Regions from separate parts of the Homo sapiens genome. Here region 2 is linked to region 1. The links are contacts of gene promoters, found by promoter capture Hi-C in human tissues and cell types (Jung and others, 2019). All regions are on one chromosome and are shown on one strand. The core of a region is centred on a gene start or on the middle of the fragment in contact, and the rest is flanking DNA. Distances in the headings are between cores, read along the strand shown.

What was found. Contacts are between HindIII fragments. The study calls those that stand out against the background at their distance.
Region 2: a contact is called between a fragment that was not itself captured here and the fragment with the promoter of KCNJ5 in region 1, in 1 of the 25 tissues and cell types used here (small bowel).

What each region holds. Positions count from the first base shown.
Region 1 is chr11:128,887,948-128,893,579 of GRCh38, forward strand. It overlaps KCNJ5 (potassium inwardly rectifying channel subfamily J member 5), which reads left to right and starts at 3,409. Exons shown (of 3, transcript NM_000890.5): 1 at 3,409-3,774. The HindIII fragment of the contact is 9,287 bases long and covers 1-4,864 here.
Region 2 is chr11:129,693,719-129,699,350 of GRCh38, forward strand. No RefSeq gene overlaps it. Among named protein-coding and RNA genes, the nearest start is that of LINC01395, 79 kb to the left of the region's middle. The HindIII fragment of the contact is 4,836 bases long and covers 1-4,574 here.

The sequences.
Region 1 (5,632 bases), core at 2,159-4,658:
CACTGGGAATCAGGGCTTCAACATCTGAATTTGGGAGAGACACCGTTCATCTCATAACAATTAGAAATATGATCTTGGAAACTAACAAAACTGGGTTCTGCTAGCAGGTCTGAAATTCCTGCCAGTGTGAGGGGACTTGACTTGTCTGAGCCTGTTTTCTCTCCGGAGAAAGGTGCTAAAGCTACCTCCCTCCCGAGGCTGTCGAGAAAATTACAAGCAATTACTTACGTGAAGCATCGAGCAGAGCTCAGCACATAGTAGGCACTGCGTTAATTACAGCCACTGGCATCACCACTTTACCGCCCAGATCCCCCAGCAGCAACCCTTCCCTTTCTTGTGGTCCCTGAGCACCCTGAGCCTTGCCTGCCCAAGCCTTGATTTCCAGCCCGGCTCCTTGACTCCTCTCCCTCTCATCACATTCAAACCTTAGTCTTCCTTCCCTAAGTCCTTCAGACCTTCCTTCTCTGCGTAGCCTTGCCGTCAGAAGTCAGTCCCAGCTCCTCTTCTCCGAGCTGTGTTAGCATTCCTGTCAATTCCACACCAGCTCCCAATTAACACCTAGGAATTAAAATCCTATGCTGTTAATTTGTCTGCTGACTTCCCCCCACCCGCAGACATGCCACCTTCCCTGTTAGATGTGAGACATTTGAGATCAAAGCCCACCATTATACCTTTTGGTCTCTCTCATAGCACCTATCAAAGTGTCTCAAACATAGTAGGCCTTTATCAACCAAGAGAGTGTGTGGACATAAAAATACATACAGTCAACATTCGCTAACTGAGTAGGTGTAGGTGTAGGGGTGTGTGTGTGTGTTTGTGTGTGTGTCTGTTTAGCATTTTAAAAGCCATGGGAAAGAGAAACACCAAACTCAGGTGGCTGGTTCTCTCCTGAGGGAAGAGGAGGTAATCTCACATGGATTTGGCAGTGTTGGCAATGCCTGGTTTTGTTTTTTTAAACTGGGTAGCAGCTACAGTATTATGTTAAATATTGCAAAATAATATGTCCTTACTCGATAGATATCTGCTGTTTATGGACGTATGAAGAATTCTCCTGACATGAGAAAAAATGCTTAAAATATTTGTTTTAGAAGCTATTTAGTTAGGATTTCAGAGTATAACTCAACAAACTCCTTTAATTAATATTTTATCTAAAAGGAAATATTTATGAGACATTACCAGGCTCCTAATGCAAATATAACTTCTATAAATAGGAGAAAAAAATAATTTTCTGCAAGTCTTATATTCTAAAGAGAACATCTTTAATTGTGAACCCATCTCCCGCTCGATGAAAGAAGGTAAGAGAAGCAGATAAAGAGAACAGAAGAAGTGAGGCTGTACTCTAATTAACAGTGATAATACATACACATTTTCTGTTGCTTTCAAGCACCGCCTCAGCAATTTTCAGACAATGAAAGACATACTTAGCACCTTGTACCGCTCCCTGAGTAGTTCTTTTATTGCATTGCTATCCTCAGATGTTGTCTGTGCTCTTTGAGAGGCTTGGGCCTCTCAAAGCTCCTCCAAGTTGCAACAATTGCTCAGGACTAGAATCCCCAAATTTCGCGTTTTTCAGTTCTCAGGTGAGACCTGGACACAAATTTTTCTGTCTCCCGATCCAAGGTCCCATCACTGAGAAAATCTTTGCAAAACAGTATTTCCCAGAGCACCCTATATTTTGCTTTAAAGTCAGTCCAGGTCCCCTGACCCCCACCCCGTAATGGCAAAAGGAATATCATGGTCTTTATACCTAATCCAAAAGCAACTGCTGCCCCAGGACAGAGCCCCTCCTCAGGGCTCAGCAGATGATTATAGTGTGTGTTATCTGGACCTGAGAACTGCACAGCCAAAGCCTCTCCCAAGAACTAGGCAATTAGGGAATTAAGAACTTTCTCCACAATAGTGTTAAGCCCTGAGGTCAAACAACATATGGTGCAGTGCGTGAGCACCTAGGCAAGCTGAGTCCCCTAAGGGGACACAGAGCTTTCCTGTTAGGGCCTGTTGCAGCCACATTTAACAATCACCCCCTCTACAGAGAGAAGAGGGGCAATCAGGAGGCCCACTCTGGCCGGACCGCTCTGTGCTCTGTCCCAGGGGAGGGTGCCTGGGCAACGGGCTGTGTGTACGCTGGTCTCCGAGGCAAGAGGACCCCCAGGCCACTGTTAGAGACTAAGTTTCCCTGTCACTGTCCTTACAGGAGAGGATGGACTTGGTGCCCTCCAGTATTAGTGACAAGCATTTTTCTCATTGCAACGTAATAAACCAGTTTTCTGGTCGTAGACATCATTCACCTAGCACTTGTGCTAGGTGCTAGGGCACCCCACGTTTGACCAGCTGTGTCTGCCCTGAGAGAGGGGGCTGGCAGGGGGGGTGTTGACCCCAAAAGGCTGGGTAACGGAGAGGGGCCAGAAGGAACACCACCGGGTGAGAAGGGCCACCCCGAACAGACCGGTCCTCAGAGGCACCTGCCGGCCCTCCCCAGACAGCAGCCCTCCCTTTCAGCCTGCCCTGGCAGCTGCCTTTCCTACGGCTTCCACGAATTAAAGAACACACTCTGGTCATCATCTGTCCTCAAGGCAGGTAGGAATCCAAAAGGGAGAGCCGGGAGGTGGCGCGGAGGACGCCGGCTCTGCCCACGCCTGGGCAAGGTTGAGCTCCGTTCCCTCCGGGCTGCTCCCGCCTCCTGTCCGTGCAGGGCGCGTTTCCAGCCATCGCCGCCCAGCCGCCGCCGCACGCCGGGGAGAGATCGTCCGGGGTGAGCAGCGAGCCCGGGGACAGCTAGCCTGGGTCCTGTCCCTGGACCTACTCCCCCTGCAGCTGGCGGATCAGGCCCCCGGACCCTCACTCCACGGCGGGAATCAGAGCCGTCGGGCGGGGGATGCAGCGCCCAGACTGTGGCTCCCCCGCCTTCCCAAAGGAATCCCCCCATCTGCTCCATCCCTCTCGGGAAACGGCGAAATGCTGCCAACCGTCCGCTTAGCGCACCGCGGAGCGACTGAGCAGCCCCGCCGAGGCTCCGAGCCAAGATTTCTGCCCTAATAGTTTCTCCCTTCTTTCTGTCTGCTCCACCGCACCCACTAAATACGCGGCGCTCACACACGGACACGCGTGACACGCGGCGCTCACACACAGGCATGGGACGCTCACACGCGCGCGCGCGGGTCTCCGTCCCTGGCACCCCGCAGCAGGGGTGCAGCCGGGGGCAGGGGGAGCCGGGGGAGGGCGCAGGGGGCCGCGGGGACGCGAGCGGAGGGCTGGATGCCTGCCGGGCTCTCTCTCCGCCTTCCTCTTCCCTCCCAGTCCTGCCGAGCTGACGGCGTCCCGGATCACATGGAGCCCCCGCCCCACCCCAGCCCGCCCCCCGCCGCCAACGCCGGTGGCCCTTCCAGTCGCGTTACTACCCAGAGATTCATTTGTACCAGGGACGGAGGGAGAGAGGAGAGGGAGGAGGGGACACACACACACACACACACACACACACACACACACACACACACAGAGAGAGAGAGAGAGAGAGAGAGAGAGAGAGAGATTGTTCCAGCTGCTCTCGCTAGAGAAAGGGAGTGACCCAAGGGGCCGCGAGTGAAGGGACAGGATGGCTTAGGTACCTCTGCCCACAGGACCCCACAACAGGGAGAGGTTCCAGCTACAGCTCCTCCGTGGGGTCATGGCAGGGGCTGGGGAGTCCCCTCAAAAGCCCTGAGCCCCCCTGCACCGCCGCTAAGGGACACCCCAGAAGTTAGCATCAGTGGGACTCGGAAGCTCCGATCTCAACAAGTAAGTTGTCTTCTTTTCCTCCTCCATTTCTCCCCCAGCTCGCGGGTTCTGGAGGGCAGGATGACACCCTCAGGTGTCCATCACCTGGGCAGCAGGCTTTCACAGGGAACCTGCTAGACTGGGAGCCAGGGGGGATAAGGAAAAGCTTAGGGCAGGTCCAAGTTTAGGAAATTGGAGATCTCCGTGGCTGCAGGCTGCCCTGTGCGTTGGGAGCCCAGCCATAAACACCTTCACTTCTGGCACTAGACCAGGGCTACCTGGGGGTGCCCCAGATCTCCCAGCAGTGGTTTGAGAGGCAACAGTGGCCAGGAGTGGGTGGGGTGTGGAGGACATTTTTCACCTGGTAGGACTCTTCCTTCAAATGGGAGCAGGGAGGGCCAGGATGGGGGGCGGTGCCCCCCTCAGCCTTAGATCCCCAGCCTAATCTTGCTTTCTCTTTTAAGTGTGGCCAAACTGGAAACACGGCCTTGTGATTTCTGCCCCCCTCGCTGCCCAAGTCACTTCCTGCGTACCTCCCTATCTCCTTTTAAAGAGCTTTCAAATGGTTCAGAAAGGCCAGGGGTCAAGCCTGTGAGGACAGAGGATAGGGAACAGAGAAGGCCGGCCTTGTCATTGCTCCCCTTCTCTTCAAGTCAGTGCTTCTCCCTGCAGAGCTGTTGGCCCCCTGGTTTTATCTGTGCCTTCCCTCAAACAGGGCTCTCCAACCCCAGGGGCTGTGGAGGGCCTCAGGTCCGGCCCCCAAAGTTCTAGGGCCTACCCTGAACATCAGGGTGAGCAACACCAGCCCAAAACCTGTTCCAGGAGCCTTTTCAAACACCAGAAGAAGATCAACAGGAACACGCCAAGTATTTTACTCTGTTTCAATCCTTTTAATAAGCTGAGATTATCATCCTCATTCTACAGGTGAAAAATTGAAGCCCAGAGAGGCTGTGCAATTTGCCTCAGGTGCACAGCTCATAAAGGGAGATTCTCTCCTATATCTGACTCCAAAATGTGCCTCGTTTTCATCAAAAGCCATATGGTTTATCGGGCTTTCTGGTTCTCAAAGCACTTTTCCATGTGAGGAAAAGGCTAATATTTATGAAACCAAGGTGCCGAGCTATATACGTTTACATGAGTTCATCTTGACACCAGTCCTGTGGGGCAGAGCTTATTTCTTCTGTTTTATAGATGAGAGTAAGGGTAACAGAATTCCAGGCACTAAGTGGCAGCAGCACTGCTATCTCCAAAACTCTTGTCCTCTGGCTTTAAATCCAGGGTCTTTCCACTAACAAAAGCTAATTCTGAAAGCTGCTCTTGTCTTTCCACATCCCTGCTTTTCCTCAAAGCCAGGTGTAAATTGCATCATCTGGCTGAATGAGGCGCTCAGGCTTCCTGGAATCTGAGGAACGAACAGGGCAGAGCAAATGATGTGGGAGTTAGAGGCCCATGGTTGGACTCTGGCATAAAGAGTTTGGTCAGCTTGGCTGGTATTTTAAACTATCTATGGACCCCACCTGAGATGGCACCATTCTGCCTAGAGGCATAAGGCCTTCAGTGGGAGGCCTGGGGCACAGCGTATGTGCTTCTTGGAAGAGCAGCAGCAGGGCCACCATTGAAAGACAGGAAACAACACATAGAGAAATTGCTGGCTCAGGAGGCTGAGGTAAGGGGATTACTTGAGCCCAGGAGTTCAAGACCAACTGGGGCAACATAGCAAGACCCCATCTCAAAAAAAAAAGAAATAAAAAAGAAAAAGAAAGGATAGAAAATTTGCCTATACATTCCACAAAGCACAAGGATTGTCCCCAGAACAACGTTCTAGACCTACTACCTAGCTCTCCAACAGAAAGGGAACCAGCCACTCAGGCATGGCTGT
Region 2 (5,632 bases), core at 907-3,406, 800 kb after region 1:
GGAAGGGGAAGGGAAGAGAAAGAAAGTTCACAGTGTAAGGCCAGGCGCGGTGGCTCACGCCTGTAATCCCAGCACTTTCGGAGGCCAAGGCAGGTGGATCACGAGGTCAGGAGATCGAGACCATCCTGGCTAACACGGTGAAATCCCGTCTCCACTAAAAATATAAAAAAATTAGCCGGGTGTGGTGGGGGGCGCCTGTAGTCCCAGCTTCTCGAGAGGCTGAGGCAGGAGAATGGCGTGAACCCGGGAGGCGGAGCTTGCAGTGAGCCGAGGTTGCGCCACTGCACTCCAGCCTGGGCAACAGAGCAAGACTCCGTCTCCAAAAAAAAAAAAAAAAAAAAAAAAAACTTCACAGCATGGAGAGCAGGCCCACTTGGGACACAGAATGGGCATGTGTCAAGGGCCCTGGGAGGAGGTGCTGGAAAGGGACAGTGGAGAAAAGGGGGGGACAGCCGATCAGTCCCCTGGGCCATTCTGCTTGCCTCCTCACTAAGAATAGTAGCATCTCCCCTCGCTCCCACTGCTTTCTGTGGCTCTCAAAATGCTTTCGCATGCATTTTCTCACTACAGCCTCAGAACAATCTTTAGGAGTAGTGTTATCTTCCCCATTTCACAGATGAGAAAGCTGAGACTCAGGGAGGCCACATAACTCGCCCAAGAACACATAGCCAATTAGTGGCAGGTATGGGGCTCCATTTAAGTATATGACCCCGCTCTGGTTCAGTATTCTTATCCCCACCCCAAATAAAGAGAATCACACGACCTTATTGTGATAATAAATAGCAACTGTAGTCAGAGGGAGAGAGGCCCAGGGAGGAACAATAATCTAACTAAGACGCTTGACATTGGAAACTCCTGGAGGGCAGGGCAGAGATCATGCAGGAGATTTAACAGCACCCAGCACAGCTGCCCACGCGGAGGTGCGTCTATGCTGAGCTGCCACAGCAAGGCTGCAGTGCCTGGCCCGGAGCTTGGTCACGCTGACCTCCACGGCAGGAACTGAGAGCAGCATCTACTCCCAATCCTGCATAAGAGGTCATAGAAACACCCTACAGCCCAGGGGGGAGCCAGTCCCGGCCAGGAGGTGGCGTCACAGTTCAGAGAGGTGCCAAGTGAGCAGAAAACAGCTCCTGGTCTCTGTAGCTGAGAGAGACAGAGCTGGACATCCTGGCCCGATGGAGCTCTGGGTGTTGTTCCCACAACAGCAACAGCACAGAGCGCTGAACACACACCCCACAGTTCACTGTCCGTGGCCAGGAGGCCATTCAAAACGTGATTGCTGGTTGTCAACTCCAAGAACTAACAGGAGTGAAAACTCACACACACACACCCCCAAGAATGCAGGCTCTGCCTGGCACGCAGGGAAGTCTGCCCTCGTGCCTGGGGTTCCTTCCTCTGTGGGCATCCCATCTTCAGAGCCTTGGCTCTCCCTTCCCCTGAGGGATTACTCACCACTTCCCTAACACTGCCGGGCTGCCCTGCTTTGCTGCCATGGAGTCCAGTCATCAGGCAGATTCATTCACATCTACGCGCCTGAGTGGTACTGGCCACCACGTAACGGAGTGGACATCAAACAGAGAAGTGGGCAACCTGGAATTGGGTGCCAGTCCTCGAGTCCCTCATCAGCCAAAAGAAAATCATCTCATGAATGCCTACCCTCCAGAAGTGTCACGGGGAGACCATCAGGTGTGTACCAGAAGCACTTCCTACGCTGCAAAGCAGCAAAGAAAGGCAGCCTCTATAGCGGTTTGTAAAGAGTGCCTTGCAGAGAGGACACAGCCTGGCTGATGAGTTTCCAGCAGCAGAGCTTTAGGTATGATTGAATCTTGGAGAGGAAGAGACTTTGGTTCTGTTGAGCCTGCTCCATGTTTCTCAAAGCACACACCACCCACTCTGCCAACAGGTAAAGCTTCGGATGGAACCTGCTGTGTTCTGTCCTCTTCCAGCTGAGCCAGGCCCGCGGGCCCCCTCCAGGAGCTCCGGGCAAGCAGCCCCTCATGGCCCGTGGTGGAACTGCACCCTCAGCACTGGAGAGGGCGGTCGCAGGAGCCTGCGAGGAAGGTGGGGTCTCAGTGCTTTCGCACAGGGCGAGTGGAGCTGGAAATGCAGCCCCCAGTAGTTTCAGTTATTCCATGTATGGCTTTTCTCTCTCACCTTGCACCTTTAGACCCTAATTTCCTGTGAGCAATGTGCTGGGAAAACTGGCAGCAGCTCTCTGGCAACCCTGGGGGAAAGAAGCGAAGTGGGGTAGAAGCGGAAGCCAGGGGCAGAGGCTGGGTCGGTCCAGCCAGCCCGCGAGGGCTCCCACGCAGCAGAGGTTCCACTGAGAGGAAGCCGGGGCTGGCCCGGCCGGGAGACTCCCTCCACGCCCCGTGTGTGGAGTGCCCGGGCACCCTATACCCTCAAGGTGGCCTTGACCTCTGGAGACAGGTGTTGGCTCCTTGAGTCACCAACAGCAGGGACCAGACCGGGAGGTGTTTCTGGGCGGGAAGGGCTGGGCCAGGCCAGGCTCCAGCAGGCCCCCTTGTGGTCAGAGGGGTTGCCTGCAGGATGATCGGCTTGGGAACCAAGGCAGCCACTCCCCACATGGGAGTTGGACCCAGGCTTGAAGGACACATTGTCACATCGATTCACTCTCCTGGGAGGCCTCCTTGTCACACAAGATGTCCTGGCCCCGGTGTTTTTCTTCACCATATTTCTCCCAACTGTAATTGTGTAGTTCCTGGGGCGCTTATCTCTCAACGTCCATCTCTGTGAAAAAAGCCGTGACCCTCCAGGATAAGGTCTGTGCGTGAGACCCCCTGTGTGGAAAGGACGTATGAAAGTCTCAGGACTCTACCTAAGAGCCAGGACCCGGCTCAGGTCGCAGCTCCACTGCACCAATGCCCCTCAGCCCCAGGAGAGACTGAGATCTCTGTAAACAGCAGAGATCAGCAATACAGGCCTTGCCCTGCTGAAACTTCCCTCTGAAAGGAAGGATAATGCTTTCAGCCAAGTGCCTGCCCAGAGCTCTGCAGGTGTGTGGCATGGAGGGCCTGGTGCCCCAGGAGGAGCTCAGCCTCCTGCCCCACCAGAATGGCCCGGGGCTCCCCAGGCTCCCTGCGATCCTGGCTCTCGTCACACCACTCTCCAATCCCACATTTGGTCCTCTGTCATGTCCATGAGGCTGTGGGTGCACCCTGTCATTGTTTGTATCCCCTGGCGATTAACACAGTCCAGGCAGAGAATCAAGTCAACAAGAATGAAGGAGAAAGTGGATCAATGAATGTTGGGCCCTATTTAGGGGCTGAGGACACAGAGATAAATAAAATTCTATCTCTGCCCATGCAGGGTTCAAAGTCAAATTGGGGGACACAAAGTAATAATCACAGTACAGTGAAATTCATGTGTAGAGTGAAAGTCATGTTTAAGGAAGCTTTATTAGGGCACATGACAAAATATCCATGACTATGTTTTAGCTGGTCAGGGAAGGCTCCTTGGAGGAGGTGACTTGGAACAGTCTTAGAGGAAAGTAAAAATTCCAGGCAGGGATGAACAGGGCTCCCAGGCAGGGCACCTCATGTGAAGAGGTACAAGAAGCCAGAGTGGAAATGTGCAGAGCTTACTGTGGGGACCTAAGGGTGGCACGTACACCGTTGGAGCCAGCGCAGGAGCTGGCCTGGGGTGCCAGAAGGGATGGAAGAAAGGTTCCCAAGGGGGTTGGAATATCAAGCAAGGGATAAGTTGTGGGGTGGCGAAAGGATTGTAAGCAGAATGCTTGACTCCCCAGGGGTTTTTTTCCAACAGGATTCTCTGACGGCATTATAGAGAGAGGAGAGGAGGGGAAGAGCCTCAGTCAGGAGGCTCTGTGGGATGCTGTTGCCTTGGTCCAAGCAAGAGACAAGGCAGGCCCTGAGCAGGATGTGGCGGGGGGCTGGAGTGGGAGGACGGATTTCAGAGATATTTAGGAGAAAGAACTTGGGGCGCAAAGGAGAGGTGGGGAGAAAAGAGGGTGAAGGAGAAATAAGGTAAAGGGGAACAGAAGCCAAGCATCAGCTTCTCCTGCCTCTTCTTCTGCAATCCTCACTCCCCAAGCACGGACCAGCCAAGGACAAAGACCCAGCTCACTGGTCAGCCTACACATGTCTCAGCTATTCTTCTCATGAAAGAGGATGTTTTAGAAACCCTGACCTGAGCTGGGTGGTCTTATTTGTAACAATATTGTAGATGGCACATAGAGGCACTTGGATAAATACTGAATGAGGCCGGGTGCAATGGCTTACGCCTGTAATCCCAGCACTTTGGGAGGCTGAGGAGAGCAGATCACTTGAAGCCAGGAGTTCGAGACCAGACTGGCCAACATGGAGAAACCCCATCTCTACCAAAAATACAAAAAAATTAGCCAGGCATGGTCGTGCATGCTTGTAATCCCAGCTACTTGGGAGGCTGAGGCAGGAGAATCACTTGAACCCAGGAGGCGGAGGTTGCAGTGAGCCGAGATTGTGCCACTGTACTCCAGCCTGGAAGACAAGAGTGAAACTCCATCTCAAAAAAAAAATAAATACTGAATGCATGATTTAGCAAGTGAATGAGTGAGTGCATGAATGAATAAATGAATTCTTCACAACTTATCCCAGGACAGACTGACTAGCAGGTTTATCCTTGCTCAAAAGAGGAACCCCCAGGTTCCTCCCTGCTGCTGCTTTGAGTCCACGTGCCCAGGGCTTGCTGGCTGCCCAGGCTCAGCTGAGACTCACAGTTGTTTGTCTAAATCTTCCTCTTTTGGAGGTCAGAACTGCAGACCTGGGAAGGGGATTGAACTCCAGAGCCTGCTTTTTCTGTGCAGGGGCTAGAAAGATTGAAAGATACAAAGATGGAAACCTCTGGATTTCTCACCAGTTGGTTGACTACCCTGAAAGAGACTGTCAAAGTTATGCCTCCTTTCCAAATGATCTCACCCACTGCCAGGAGATGATCTGCGTGACCTACAAGCAAAGGCAGATAGCAACCAAGAGCTGAAATTAAAGTAGTGGAAAGATTAATTTCCCCATACAGGGCACTTCCCCACCCCCCAACCCTGCTTTTTGTTTTTTCGTTTTTTTGGGTTTTTTTTTTTGCACAGGCAGCAATTCAATAAATAATTAATGCTTGCTAATCTTTTAGCTATTTCTCCTGTTGTAAAAAATTAATTGGTCTTCAATCATCTATTGCATTGTAATATGGAGGTATTTGGCCCTAGTCCACCACCCTGCTGAAACACGCCCCTCCTGATGTTCCTTGGCATATGTCAGTGACACTGGGCAGTCATGCCCAGCCTCCAGGTTCAGGACATGAATGGGAGTGCACAGCCATGTGGCAGACAACTCCAGGGAGCTTCACACAAGCACTGCCTCTTTCTTCCAGCACGTTTGAGGAGTTTGCAAATGCTCATTCTCACAACACCTCCTCCCTAGTTGCTGAGACTCCTATTTTGCAAAAGAGGTTGAACAAGATTAATGATGGGGTGGAGAAGCAGCACCATCTCTCTCCAGGCCTCTGACTAGGGACATCACATGTCCTGGGATCTCTTTCTGGCTTTTGCCACTGAACTTGTGCCTCAGTTTGCCTAAGCAGGACTATCAGATCCACAGGAAGCAAAATGGGGAGGGGCGGT